2 separate regions of the Homo sapiens genome follow, and region 1 is linked to region 2. The links are contacts of gene promoters, found by promoter capture Hi-C in human tissues and cell types (Jung and others, 2019). All regions are on one chromosome and are shown on one strand. The core of a region is centred on a gene start or on the middle of the fragment in contact, and the rest is flanking DNA. Distances in the headings are between cores, read along the strand shown.

Region 1 (6,941 bases), core at 474-2,973, 110 kb before region 2:
GGTGATCAGGCCTCAACCCAGTGAACAACAGGATAATTTGGTAGAATTACTTTAGAGAGAAAGAACCTACTCAGTAGGTGATGTGGAGCCTTCTGAAATAGGTCATCTTCACTACTCAGATCTTTTTTCTTTTGGAGACAGAGTCTTGCTCTGCTCCCCAGGCTCGAGTGCAAAGGTGTGAGCTCACTGCAACCTCTGCATCCCAGGTTCAAGCAATTCTCCCGCCTCAGCCTTCCAAGTAGCTGGGACTACAGGCACGCACCACCACATCCGGCTAATTTTTGTATTTTAGTAGAGACGAGGTTTCATCACTTTTCCCAGGCTGGTCTCAAACTCCTGAGCTCAGACAATCCACCCAGCTCAGCCTCCCAAAGTGCTAGGATCACAGGCGCGAGCCACCACGCCTGGCCTCCCTTATATCTTTATTTTACCTGCTTTTCAGAAATTGCTTGTTCCTGTTGTTTTATTTATTTTTACTTGTAATTCCTTTCCAGCCCCATTATAATGGCAAAACACTGCAATCTGAATGTTCAACTCGGGGGAGATTTGTTAACCCACCCCCCCAATCATAAGATATTTGAATGGAATCTAAATGCCTAGCCACCAGTACACCGCCTGGTACAACCTGAATGTCTACCTATAAGAGACTGGTGGGGACAAGCTAAGAGTCCAGACTCAGGGGCATGGATGGCATAACCTAAATGTTCAACCATATGGGACTTGATTGGAACTAAAAACTGTCCAGCCATAGGGAGAGTCTTGCAATATCCTAAATCCCCACATGAGATTGTTTGGGACAACCCAGGGACCAACTACAGTGGCCCGGTCAGATCCTAAATGTCCAAACATGGGAATCTGTTTGGTATGTAAACGTCCAGCCAGGCTGGGTTGGCAGAGACGATCTAAATGACCAACTGGGGTTTTGTTGGAACCCATCGCTGCTTAGGCATGGCAGGGCCCAGGCCATGGCGTGTTCTTTGGTCTAGGTTGGCTGAAACAACCTAAATGCCCAACTATAGGGAATCTGGTTGGAAGTGAATGTCCAGCCACAGGGGAGCCCTGCAACATCCCAAATCCCAACACGAGATTGTTCAGGACAACTTCAGTGGCCTGGTCGGATCCAAAACGTCCAAACACGGGAATCTGGCCAGTGTGTCAATGTCCAGACAGGTTGGGTTGGCAGAAACTATCTAAATGTCCAACGCTGGCCAGACGCGGTGGCTCACGCCTGTAATCCCAGCACTTTGGGAGGCCGAGGCAGGTGGATCGCTTGAGGCCAGGAGATCGAGACCATCCTGGCTAACACGATGAAACTCCGTCTCTACTAAAAATACAAAAAAATAGCAGGGAGTGGTGGCGGGCGCCTGTAGTCCCAGCTACTCGGGAGTGCTGAGGCAGGAGAATCGCTTGAACCCGGGAAGCGGAGGCTGCAGTGAGCAGAGATCGCACCACTGCACTCCAGCCAAAATAAATAAATACATAAATGTCCAATGCTAGGGCACCGCATTTGAGCCTAGCTCGGACGGGGCCTCTGCGACGGAGTATCCTGGGCGACCCCGTCCCCTCTCTGGCCCGTTTCCCAGTCTCTGAGCTTGGGCCAAACTCTAGGACCTCCGGCCCCGGTCCGCCCCTGCCTCACCAGGCGGTCCCGGCCCCTGTACGACTCCAGCGCCGACGCCAGGCCGCTCAGCGACGCCATGGCAACTCCGTGACGTCACCGCGACGTCGGCGCGCCGCGCCAGGGGGCGGGGCCAGGCCGGGGTACCGGGAGCGCCCCAAAGGCTTGCGCGCAGGCGCGGCCGCAGGCCTTTGTCCCCCTGACCGGCTTTTTGTCCGCTGTAGGGGAGGGACAGAGTTTGCAGAGGTGGGGCCGACACGTGTGTGCTCTCCAGGCCTGCAGACCCTGGATCATCCTCGGAGTTTGCTGCATTCTGCCCCACGGCGGTTTGGCCAACTACCCACGCACAAAAAAATATATTTCTAAGTTTAACCAACTACCCACACGCTCCAAAAATATTCCAAGCAAAACCACCAACCTGTTCGCAGTGGTTCAAGGAGAGATTTTCCTTTTTAGTTTTTGTGCTTCACCTTTTCTGCACTGTCTGCCTGCCCGTAGTGAGCAGGAATGACTGCTGTAATATCACAACAAGGCATCTTTCGACGTTAAGGAAAGACGTTATCTTTGGACGTTAAGAATTGTTCTAGAATACATAAATAAAAAATAAAAATGCACAATTCAGTGACATTAGTACATGCACATGTTGGACAACCATCACCCCTTGCTAGTTTCGGGGTATTTTTATCACCCCCAAGAGAGACCCCCGTAGGAGACCAGCATATGCCCCTCTGAAATATGCGACCTTGGTGTAGGATTATTTTGAGCTGAGATCAATGAAGCTGATACCGGAAAAGCTCTCTGTTCTTCCCTGATTTGCCTCAAAGCAGGACCTAAAGGTACAAAGGTGCCCTCCTCCCCTCTCTACCAGGAAGGACAAAGGTTGATCACCAGGGACACCTTTAGACTCTTGTCTGGAGACGTCTTTTTTTTTTTTTTCTTTTTTTTTGAGACGGAGTCTTGCTCTGTCCCCAAAGCTAGAGTGCAGTAGCGCCATCTCTGCTCACTGCGTCCTCCGCTTCCCTGGTTCAAGCGATTCTCGTGCCTCAGCTTCCCAAGTAGCTGGGATCACAGCTGTGCACCACTGTGCCCGGCTAATTTTTGTATTTTTGGTAGAGTCGGGGTTTCACCACGTTGGCCAGGCTGTTCTCAAATTCCTGGCCTCAAGTGATCCGCCCGCCTCGGCCTCCCAAAGTGCTGGGATTACAAGCGTGAGCCACCGCACCCGGCCTCAATGTCCTTTTCCTTCGTCTTGTCACTTCTCCAAAAATTTGCTGCTATATGTTGAAGGTGCTATATAAGCAGGAGTTATATAAGCTATATAAGCCACCTCATTTCTCTTGGCATCTCCCATGTACACATAAGGTACACATGTTAATAAATTTGTTTTTCCCTTGTTAATTTTTTTTTTTTAGACGGAGCCTCGCTCTGTCGCCCAGGCTGGAGTGCAGTGGCACGATCTCGGCTCACTGCAAGCTCCGCCTCGCGGGTTCACGCCATTCTTCTGCCTCAGCCTCCCGAGTAGCTGGCACTACTACAGGCGCCCGCCACCACGCCTGGGTAATTTTTTTTTTTTTTTTTTTTTTGTATTTTTAGTAGAGACGGGGTTTCACCGTGTTAGCCAGGATGGTCTTGATCTCCTGACCTCGTGATCCGCCCGTCTCTGCCTCCCAAAGTGCTAGGATTACAGGCGTGAGCCACCGCGCCTGGCCTCTATTTTTTTTTTTTTTTTTTTTTTTTTTTTTTGAGACAGGGCCTCGCTCTGGGAGGAACCAAATTTGTAGATGTGAAGCCGCCACTTGTGTGCTCTCTGGGCCTGAGGACCCAGGATGATGCCCAGAGCTTGCTACATTCTGCCCCATGGTAGCTTGACCAACTACCCACAAAAAAGGGGTAGAGTGCAGCGGCACGATCTTAACTCACTGCAGCCTTGAACTCCTGGGATCAAGCCATCCTGCCACCTCAGCATCCTGAGTAGGTGGGACCACAGGTGCCTGCCACCACAATTGGCTAATTTCTTTTTATTTTTTATTTTTTGTAGAAATGGAGTCTTACCATGTTACCCAGGCTGGCCTTGAGCCCTGGGCTTAAGCAATCTTCCCACGTCGACCTTCCAAAGTGCTGGAATTACAGGCGTGAACCACCGCACCCGCCCTTCTTAATTCTTTCATTGCAAGGATCCATCACAGCTAAGAACTAAGAATAAAGGAAAAAGTATGTTTCCTCCCCTACACCCTGTTCCCATAAAGCAATCACTCAATTCCTCCCTCCTCCCAGCCCCTGGCAACCACTAATCTGCATTCTCTGCTGTCTCTCTGTATTTTTACCACTTCTTGATTTTTTTTTTTTTTTTTTTTTTTTGAGACAGAGTCTCACTCTGTCACCCAGACTGGAGTGCAGTGGCATGATCTCAGCTCACGGCAGCCTCCGCCTCCCAAGTTCAAGCAATTCTCCTGCCTCGGCCTCCCAAGTGGCTGAGAGTACAGGTGCGCACCACCACACCCGGCTAATTTTTGTATTTGTAGTAGAGATGGATTTTACCATGTTGGCCAGGCTGGTCTTGAACTCTTGACCTCAAGGGATCTGCCTGCCTCGACCTCCCAAAGTGCTGGGATTACAGGCATGAGCCACCATGCCCGACCTCCTTGATATTTCATACAAATGGAATCATACAATATGTGACCATTTGTGTCGGCCTCTTCCACCAAGCATAATAGGTTGTTTTGGTTTTTGCTTTTTGTTTTTGAGACAGGGTCTTGCTGTGTCACCAGGCTGGAGTGCGGTGGTGTGATCATAGCTCACTGCAGCCTTGAACTCCTGGGCCTGAGAGATCCTCCTGCCTCAGCCTCCACATTGCCTGGGACTACAGGTGCACGCCACCACATCTGGCCAATTTTTAAAATTTTTCTTTTGTAGAGATGCGGTCTCGCTATGTTCACCAGGCTGGTTTCGACCTCCTGGACTCAAGGGATCCTCCTGCCTTGGCCTCCCAAAGTGCTGGGATTACAGGTGTGAGCCACTGCGTGCAGCTGAGCATAATGGTGTTGAGGTTTGTCTAAGTTGCAGCATGTATCAGAAATTCATTCCACTTGCAGCTATATAACATTGCGCCATATGGATGGACCACATTTTGTTTATCCACGTATCAGCTGATGGTCATTTGGGCTGTTTCTGCCTTTTAGCGATCGTGAATAAGTACAGCTATAAACATTTGTGAATATGTAGTTGGAGTCCCTGGATTCCATTCCTTTGGGTCTATACCTAGAAGTGGGGTTGCTGGGTCATTTTGTAACTCTATGTTGAACTTTTTGAGTAATTGCCCAACTGTTTCCCACAGTAGCAGTACCATTTTCCATCCCCACCAGCATTACACAAAGGTTCCAATTTCGCCACTTCCTTGCAACATCCTTTTTTGATTATGATAGCCATCGTAGTAGGTGTGACGTGCCACCCCATTGTGGTTTTGTTTTGCCTTTTCCTGATGACTAATGATGTCAACGAGTCTGTTTGTTGGTTTGTTTGAATTTTTTTTTTTGAGACAGAGTGTCACTCTATTGCCTAGGCTGGAGTGCAGTGCTGATCTCAGCTCACTGCAACCTCCACCTCCCAGGTTCAAGCGATTCTCATGCCTCAGCCTCCCAAATAGCTGGGATTACAGCACACCCGCCACTGTGCCCGGCTAATTTTAGACTTTTAGTAGAGACGGGGTTTCGCCATGTTGGCCAGGCTGGTCTCCAACTCCTGATCTCAAGAAATCTGCCCACCTCGGCCTCCCAAAGTGCTGGGATTATAGGCGTGAGTCACCGCGTCTGGCCTCGATGTTAACCAGTTTTCTTTCACAGAATATTTCCTCTTGATTTCAACTCTTGTTACTCTTCTCCTGCATTGCTTTCCTCCTGTTGTTTAAAGTTACAGCAGATTCCTGCCTCAGGAACTTTGCATGTTCTGTTTCCTCTGCAGAAATGTTCTTGAGCCAGATACCAACGTGGCTCCCTCCTTCCCTAACTTCCTTTACTCGAATGTCATCCTCTCACGGGACCCACCCGATCACACCCTCCTGGACACTTCCTACCCATGTTACCTGCTGGTGACCTGTCTTGTTCATGGCTATATCCGCACAGCCTGGCAGAAAACAGAGAATCTGTTTTGTAAGTTTCACTGCCCTGTCCAAAGATCTCTTCTTGTGCTCCAAGGGAGCATGGAACACAAGGGGGCACAAGAAAGGCCTTGTCCACTCCTGTGATTTTCTTCCTCTCTGTCTCTCTCTCTTTCTGTTTTTGTTTTTAAACAGAGTCTCACTCGGTTGCCCAGGCTGGAGTGCAGTGGCATGATTTCGGCTCACTGCCATCTCCACCTCCCGGGTTCAAGCAATTCTCCTGCCTCAGCCTCCCAACCAGCTGGGATTACAGGCACCTGCTACCACGCCCCCACTAATTTTTGGAGTTTTTAATAGAAATAGGGTCTCACCATGTTGGCCAGGCTGGTCTCAAACTCCTGGGCTCAAGTGATCCACCCACTTCGGCCTCCCAAACTGCTGGGATTACAGGCATGGGCCACCATGCCCAGCCTCTTTTTTTTTTCTTCTTGTTTGTTTTTGAGACAGGGTCTCGCTCTGTTGCCCAGGCTGGAGTGCAGTGGCATGATCATAGCACCACTGCTGCATTGAACTCCTGGGTTCAAGTGATCCTCCATCCTCAGCCTCCCATAGCACTGGGATTACAGGTGTGTGCCACCACACCTGGCCCCAAGAGACTCTTTAACTTCCACATCCAGCTCCTTTTAAGACTTGGGTCCACTGGCTGAGCTCAGTGACTCACACCTGTAATCCCAATACTTTGGGAGGCCAAGGCAGGTGGATCACTTGAGGTCAGGAGTTGGAGACCAGCCTGGCCAATATGGTGAAACCCCGTCTCAAAAAAAAAAAAAAGACTTGGGTCCACGGGTCTTTGTGCACTCCCCTCTCCCCCAGTGGGGGGGTCACTCTTTTTTTTTTTTTTTAGAGTCAGAGTCTCGCTCTGTCACCCAGGCTGGAATACAGTGGTATGATCTTAGCTCACTGCAACCTCTGCCTCTGGGTTCAAGTGATTCTCCTGCCTCAGCCTCCCAAGTAGCTAGGATTACAGGCACCCACCACCACGCCCAGCTAATTTTTGTATTTTTAGTAGAGATGGGGTTTTGCCCTGTTGGCCAGGCTGGTCTCGAACTCCTGACCTTGGGGAATCCTCCCATCTCAGCCTCCTAAAGTGCTGGGATTACAGGCATGAGCCACTGCGCCCAGCCACGGGGTCACTGTTTTCACAGCAGAAAAATTGAAGCCAAGCCAGCT
Region 2 (7,167 bases), core at 3,440-5,939:
GACCACCTTGCCACAGCGTCTTTCCATTTCATAGCGTTTTGTTTTTGTTTTTTTTTATGAGACGGAGTTTTTTTGCTCTCATTGCCCAGGCTGGAGTGCAATGGTGCGATTTTGGCTCACCGCAACCTCCACCTCCCAGGTTCAAGCGATTCTCCTGCCTCAGCCTCCTGAATAGCTGGGATTACAGGCATGCGACACCATGCCTGGCTAATTTTGTGTTTTTAGTAGAGATGGGGTTTCTCAATGTTGGTCAGGTTGGTCTTGAACTCCAGACCTCAGGTGATCTGCCCACCTTGGCCTCCCAAAGTGTTGGAATTTATTTATTTATTTATTTATTTATTTTTTTTTTTGAGACGGAGTTTCGCTCTTGTTGCCCAGGCTGGAGTGCAGTGGTGCAATCTCAGCTCACCGCAATCTCTGCCTTCTGGTTTCAAGCAATTCTCCTGCCTCAGCCCCCCAAGTAGCTGGGATTACAGGCATGCACCACCACCTCTGGCTAATTTTTTTTTTATTTTTAGTAGAGATGGGTTTCTCCATGTTGGTCAGGCTGGTCTTGAACTCCGGACCTCAGGTGATCCGCCCACCTCAGCCTCCCAAGGTGCTGGGATTACAGGCGTGAGCCACTGGGCCCGGTCTTTTTTTTTTTTTTTTCTTTTTGAGATGGAGTCCTGCTCTTTCGCCCAGGCTAAAGTGCAGTGGCACGATCTCAGCTCACTGCAACCTCTGCCTCCTGGGTTCAAGCAATTCTTCTGCCTCAGCCTCCTGAGTAGCTGGGATCACAGGCGCCAGCCACCACACACAGGGAATTTTTGTATTTTTAGTAGAGATGGGGTTTCACAATGTTGGCCAGGCTGGTCTCGAATTCCTGACCTCAGGTGATGCACCTGCCTCAGCCTCCCAAAGTGCTGGGATTACAGGAGTGAGCCACTGTGCCCGGCCTGTATGTTATCTTTTTACGTATCACTTTCTGAGTGCATTTGTGTGCATGAAGCTGACATTTACATTTGTGTGAATTTGTGAATATTTGTGTGAGTCTGTGAGCACTTATTCCTGTTCACAAGGTGACAAGGTGCCTATGTATGTGTGTGTGTGTGTGTGTGTTCTGAAAGTAACACACGTTTTTCTTTTCTTTTTTTTTTTTTTTTGAGACAGAGTCTGGCTCTGTCACCCAGGCTGGAGTGCAGTGGCAAGATCTCAGCTCACTTCAACCTCTGCCTCCTGGGTTCAAGCGCTTCTCCTGCCTCAGCCTCCCAAGTAGCTGGGATTACAGGCATGTGCCACCATGCCTGGCTAATTTTTGTATTTTTAGTAGAGACAGGGTTTCACCATGTTGGTCAGGCTGGTCTTGAACTCCTGACTTCAAGTGATCCACCTGCCTCGGCCTCCCAAAGTGCTGGGATTACAGGCTTCAGCCACCGTGCCTGGCCGAAAGTAACACACTTTTCTTTCCAGGCCTGTAAAGAACGAACTCACACAAACACTTGTGCATTCACAATTATATACAGCTAAGAGGCATGCAGGGGATATTTTGACAAAAATACAATGGAGGGCCAAGCACAGTGGCACATGCCTGTAATCCCAGCACTTTGGGAGGCCGAGGTGGGAGGATCCCTTGAGCCTAGGAGTTTGAGATCAGCCTGGGCAATATAAGGAGATCCCATCTCTACACAAAACAAAAAATTAGCCAGGGATGGTGGCTGCAGTGAGCCATGATTGTGCCACTGCACTCAAGCCTGGGGTGACAGAGTGAGATCCTGTCCAAAAAAAAAATAAAACAACAACAACAAAACAAACAATAGAACAAAAGCAAATATTAAAATATTAAAAACATCCGGCTGGGCGCGGTGGCTCATGCCTGTAATCCCAGCACTTTGGGAGGCCGAGGCGGGTGGATCACCTGAGGTCAGGAGATCAAGACCATCCTGACTAACACAATGAAACCCCGTCTCTACTAAAAATACAAAATATTAGCTGGGCATGGTGGCCGGCGCCTGTAGTTCCAGCTACTGGGGAGGCTAAGGCAGGAGAATGGCGCGAACCCGGGAGGCGGAGCTTGCAGTGAGCTAAGATTGCACCACTGCACTCCAGCCTGGGTGACAGAGCGAGACTCGGTCTCAAAAAAAAAAAAAAAAACAAACAGAAAAAAAAAAACCAAAAATCCACAAATCGGTGCTTAGACCTTACAAATAAACACACAATTGCACTCATGTACACAAATATTTGTACTCAACGCGTTCACACACACTTCCATACTTACAGACACAATCAGATTCATACACAGAAATACATTTGCTTACACAGATATGAATTCCTAGATAAATATGCACATTTGAACTCTCACAAAAGCATTCAGACACAGGCATTCTTTTTTTTTTTTTTAATGTGACGGAGTCTCACTCTGTCGCCCATGCTGGAGTACAGTGGTGCAATCCTAGCTTGCTGCAACCTCTGCCTCCTGGGTTCAAGCGATTCTCCTGCCTCAGCCTCCCAAGTAGCTGCAATTATAGGTGTGGGCAACCACGCCCGGCTAACTTTTGTATTTTTAGTAGAGATGGGGTTTCACCATGTTGGCCAGGCTGGTTTTGAACTCCTGACCTCAGGTGATCCACCCGCCTCAGCCTCCCAAAGCACTGGGATTACAGGCATGAGCCACTGCACCCAGCAGAAACAGGCATTCTTGCACAGGTATACCTGCTTTCATGCCTACACAATCTGTCACAGGCACCCACCATATATTCAAATCCACAAAGATACTCACATATAAACACACATATATGCACAAAAATATAGTCAGGAACTGCTCATCATAAATCACACATCTGCTGGGCGCGGTGCCTCAAGCCTGTAATCCCAGCACTTCAGGAGGCCGAGTTGGGCGGATCACGAGGTCAGGAGATCGAGACCATCCTGGCTAACATGGTGAAACCCGGTCTCTACTTAAAAAAAAATACAAAAAACCAGCCGGGCGTGGTGGCGGGTGCCTGTAGTCCCAGCTACTCGGGAGGCTGAGGCAGGAGAATGGCATGAACCCAGGAGGCAGAGCTTGCAGTGAGCCAAGATCGCACCACTGCACTCCAGCCTGAGCGATAGAGCGAGACTCCGTCTCAAAAAATCAATCAATCAATCAATCACACATCCATGTGCATATAGCCAGATTCACATACTCAAATACAAACCCACTTAGACACACAGCCTCACCTCCACACAGAGCCTTCTCCCAGCACACACTGCAGATACCAGAATAATACACAAAGACACTTGCAAATACACCCAGTACAGCTACGCAAGGACACTCATAGACACAAATAGTCACACTCTTGCAGAAATATACACACTTTTTTTTTTTTTTTGAGACAGGGTCTCACTCTGTTGGCCAAGCTGGAGTGCAGTGGCACTATCTCAGCTTCTGCCTCCCTGGTTCAAGCGATTCTCCCGCCTCAGCCTCCCGAGTACTTGGGATTACAGGCATGCACCATTATGCCCGGCTAATTTTTAAAAATTTTATTTTTAGTAGAGACGGGGTTTTGCTATGTTGGCCAGGCTACTCTTGAACTCCTGGCCTCAAGTGATCTGCCCGCCTTGGCCTCCCAAAGTGCTGGGATTACACTCGTGGCCACCGCTCTCGGCCTGAAATACACACACTCTCAATGTCTCTCCATACTCCTGCATTGACAGAGGCATCAATAACAGCCTCATACAACACACCAGTACGTTCAGATGCACAGAGATAGACATACTCACAGCACTCCAAAAACACACACACAGCCGGGCACGGTGGCTGCCGCCTGTAATCCCAGCACTTTGGGAGGCTGAGGCGGGTGATCACCTGAGGTCAGGAGTTTGAGACTAGCCTGGCTAACATGGTGAAACCCCAACTCTACTAAAAATACAAAAATTAGCCGGGAGTGGTGGCGCAACCCCGTAATCCCAGCTACTCGGGAGGCTGAGGCAGGAGAATCGCTTGAGCCTGGGAGGCGGAGGTTGCAGTGAGTCGAGATCGCGCCACTGCACTCCAGCCTGGGAGACAGAGTGAGTGAGACCCTGTCTCAAAAACAAAAACAAAAACAAAAACAAAAAACAGACACACACTCATCACTTCCATCCATCCTCAGGATACAGACATCTATATAATACATATCCTTGTACACACAACAAATTAAACACACACTTACACGTGCCCAGATACATACCCCACACACACACACCCCTAGACACCCCCCAATACACTTGGTCACCACCCAAATGTATTCAGAGATACACAGATACGAAGACACTCATATTCTTGTGCCTTCACTAACATAATCAGAAACAGGTGCACCCAACCACTCTCTGCCTGAGGGCCGGCGTTTATTGCAAGCACTTGCAGGAGCTCCTACGCCTAAGGGTAGACACTGGGGCTGGCACACACAGAGGGTCCCTAATCCTTTCCAGTAAGCTAGGCGCGCGCGCACACACTCACACACGCGCGCGCGCACACATACACACTCAGTCCTCCGCAAGCTCCCTCCACCATCGCCGCAGTCCAGGCCGCCCCCCTCCGCCCCGCCCCTGCTGCTCCGTGCACACTGCAGTGAGGGGCCCGGGCGGGGCGCAGGGGCGCGCCAGGGTCCGGGTCCGGGTTCGGGGGCGGGGCGCACCTGGGCTCCTCCCCGGGGCGGGCCCGACGCAGCGTCGCCAGCGCAAGCGGCCGCACCTGGCTCAGCAGCGGCGGCGGCGGCGGCGGCGGCAGCGGCGGTAGCAGCAGCGGGCCCGGCTGGGGCGCGAGCGCGGCGCAGCCCAGCCCAGCCCAGTCCGAGCGCGGACCCGGCGCCCGCAGCCCCGGCGCCGCCATGGTGGAGGCGGCGCCCCCCGGGCCCGGGCCGCTGCGGAGGACCTTTCTAGTGCCCGAGATCAAGTCGCTGGACCAGTACGATTTCTCGCGGGCCAAGGCGGCGGCCAGCCTGGCGTGGGTGCTGCGGGCCGCGTTCGGGGGCGCAGGTACCGGGGCTCGGGGGACCGGGGTCGGGGGCGGCGGGCCGGGCGCGGCAGGTGCTGGGGGGGGGCGGGGCGCCGGGCCGGGAAGGCAGGGGGCCGTGGGAACAATAGCGCCGGCCGCCGGGGGTCCCCGGGCTCGGGCCCCTGCCGCGCCGGGGCCTCCGAGCTTCCTGCTCGGCCCGGGCGGTGGACTTTGCCCCGCCGGCTGCGGGAGCGCGGTGGGGGTGGGGCCCGCGGCCCAGCTCCGCGCGGGGGTCCCCGGCGTCCAAGCCTCCAGGTGAGCCGGGCGGGGTCTGCGGGCCGGGTGGGGTCTCCCCGTGCGGACCTCTCGTTCCCGCCTCCCGCACCCCCAAGGCCTTCCCTTGCACGCCTTCTTCTCTTTTACACACATCACGCCCCTGCGAGGATCTCCTCTCGGTCTCTTCCCCCGCCACACACCCTGGAGACCCAGACCCCGACCTCGCTGGGGGGTCTCGAGCGCTCCGGTCTCCACCACCGCACGACCCCCAGGCCCCAACACACACCCCGCGTCGGCCCTGGCCGCGCTGCGGGCGGCGACCGGGGAGCTCTGGGAACCCCCTTTCGCCTCCATAGCCCCCTCCAGCGCCTGGCAGCTGCGACTTATGGCCCCATTTTACTGGGGAGGTTGGCGAGCCCAGCTGAAGGGAAATGGGTAGTACAAGATCGCCTGGGGTGGGCCCCCCGCTCCTCCCGGCTGCGGGGCCTTCTCCCATTAGAGCAGATCCTTCACTCCCTCCCCCAGGCCCGCTTGCCTGAGAGCCCGAGCCACCCTAATGGGGAGGATGCCGTAATCCCGGGTCCCCGGGATTAGAGGCCCTGGAAACACTCAGTCTCGGCTTTGGGCAGCTTCACAACCCCAGGCCAGAGCTAGGAGTCAGGGCCTGGCCAGAGAAGACAGGGGTTAATTAAGGTCTGGGCTTTCCAGCGGGGAGCTGTGGGGGTACATCCTTTTCTCCCACTGGTTCTGCCCACTGGTGTTGGCACAGCCCATCCCCCCTCTCCCTGGCCTTCCCAGATCAACCTGTTCTGGGTGTGGGTCTCAGTGACAGCTGTCCGTCTCCTGGTTCCGCCCCAGCCTGTCCCTCTTTCTCCCAGACAGTCTCTGTCTGCGTCGTTCCATGCATGCATTTCCCACTCTGGGGTCTACCTCCCTGCAGATATTTGCTTGAGGAAGAAAGAGATTGGGCATTGGACAGCCAGGACAGCCCCAGCTCCTCACTTCCAAGGTTACCAGGCTGTAGAGAACTCAACGTGGAGTGTCAGAATTGAATGTGAAGTCCAGCTGCACCAGAATGCGAATTATCCCAATTATCTGAGCTTCTGTTTCCCCTTCTATAAAAGAAGGCGTTCATTCACAGACTTATCTGTTTTGCGAATGTTTGTGGGGCAGGGGCACTTGCTATGTGTAGGGCACTGCTCCAGTGATGGAGACCCCCCGTTACCTCTTTGCAAGGTTGCTGGGAGGCGTAAAAGCTGTAGTGACCACAGAATTCTTCGCGTGGCACGGGGCGCGTGATACATGCGAAACGGTTGCTCGCTGCTGGTGTGATTGGCGGTGGTATATTTTGATGAATAATATTAACGTTATCCATTATCCCCTGGCCAGGAATCAGAGTAGAAATTATCCCATTTTGAAGACAGCAAAGCAAACTTCTGATGAGGGGTGTTGGTGAGCTCCCAGTGCCCTGACTCACCCAGTTCTGTTCTTGTTGACCCAGCTCCCTCTGCTGTGTGACACACGGCAGTGGCTGCCTCTACCGTGAGGGTCAAGTTCAATCTGTTCCCTGTTCCACTCCCCTAAAAAGAGGAGAAGGGCTGAAGGAAATGGGAGCAGAGTTCTACAAGATTCATGAGCTCTGGGGACTCTTGACGGTATGATACCTATCAGGTGCTGGGCTGGGCGCTCAGGGTGTAGAGGAGACGGCAGGGGATGGATATGGGGCAGAGGGGGATGGGCAGGAAACCAGATCATAGGGAAGCTGGCCAGCGGGGCCTGGGGAAAGAAATTCTTGAAATCTTCCAGGGAGGGAAGAGATCCCACAGGTGGAAAGATTTGAGTCTGGAAGGATGCATGGAAGTTTGACACGGAGAAGAGATGTGTGGGCAGTGGGCAAAGGCTCGGAGTGTGGACCAGCAGGGAGTTCTCAGAGAATAAGATGCAGGTCCCCGGGG

Evidence for each region. The method cuts DNA at HindIII sites, captures the fragments that hold promoters and counts their contacts. A contact is called where the count stands out against the background at its distance.
Region 1: the fragment with the promoter of PEX11G here is called in contact with the fragment with the promoter of CAMSAP3 in region 2 in 1 of the 25 tissues and cell types used here (liver).

What each region holds. Positions count from the first base shown.
Region 1 is chr19:7,487,312-7,494,252 of GRCh38, forward strand. PEX11G (peroxisomal biogenesis factor 11 gamma) reads right to left here and starts at 1,724. Exons shown (of 5, transcript NM_080662.4): 1 at 1,640-1,724. The coding sequence starts at 1,699. RefSeq lists silencers at 1,471-1,530, 1,581-1,910, 5,432-5,726. The HindIII fragment of the contact is 14,364 bases long and covers 1,520-6,941 here.
Region 2 is chr19:7,591,174-7,598,340 of GRCh38, forward strand. CAMSAP3 (calmodulin regulated spectrin associated protein family member 3) reads left to right here and starts at 4,690. Exons shown (of 17, transcript NM_020902.2): 1 at 4,690-4,977. The coding sequence starts at 4,830. RefSeq lists silencers at 2,126-2,326, 4,390-4,829 and an enhancer at 5,669-6,274. The HindIII fragment of the contact is 16,585 bases long and covers 1-7,167 here.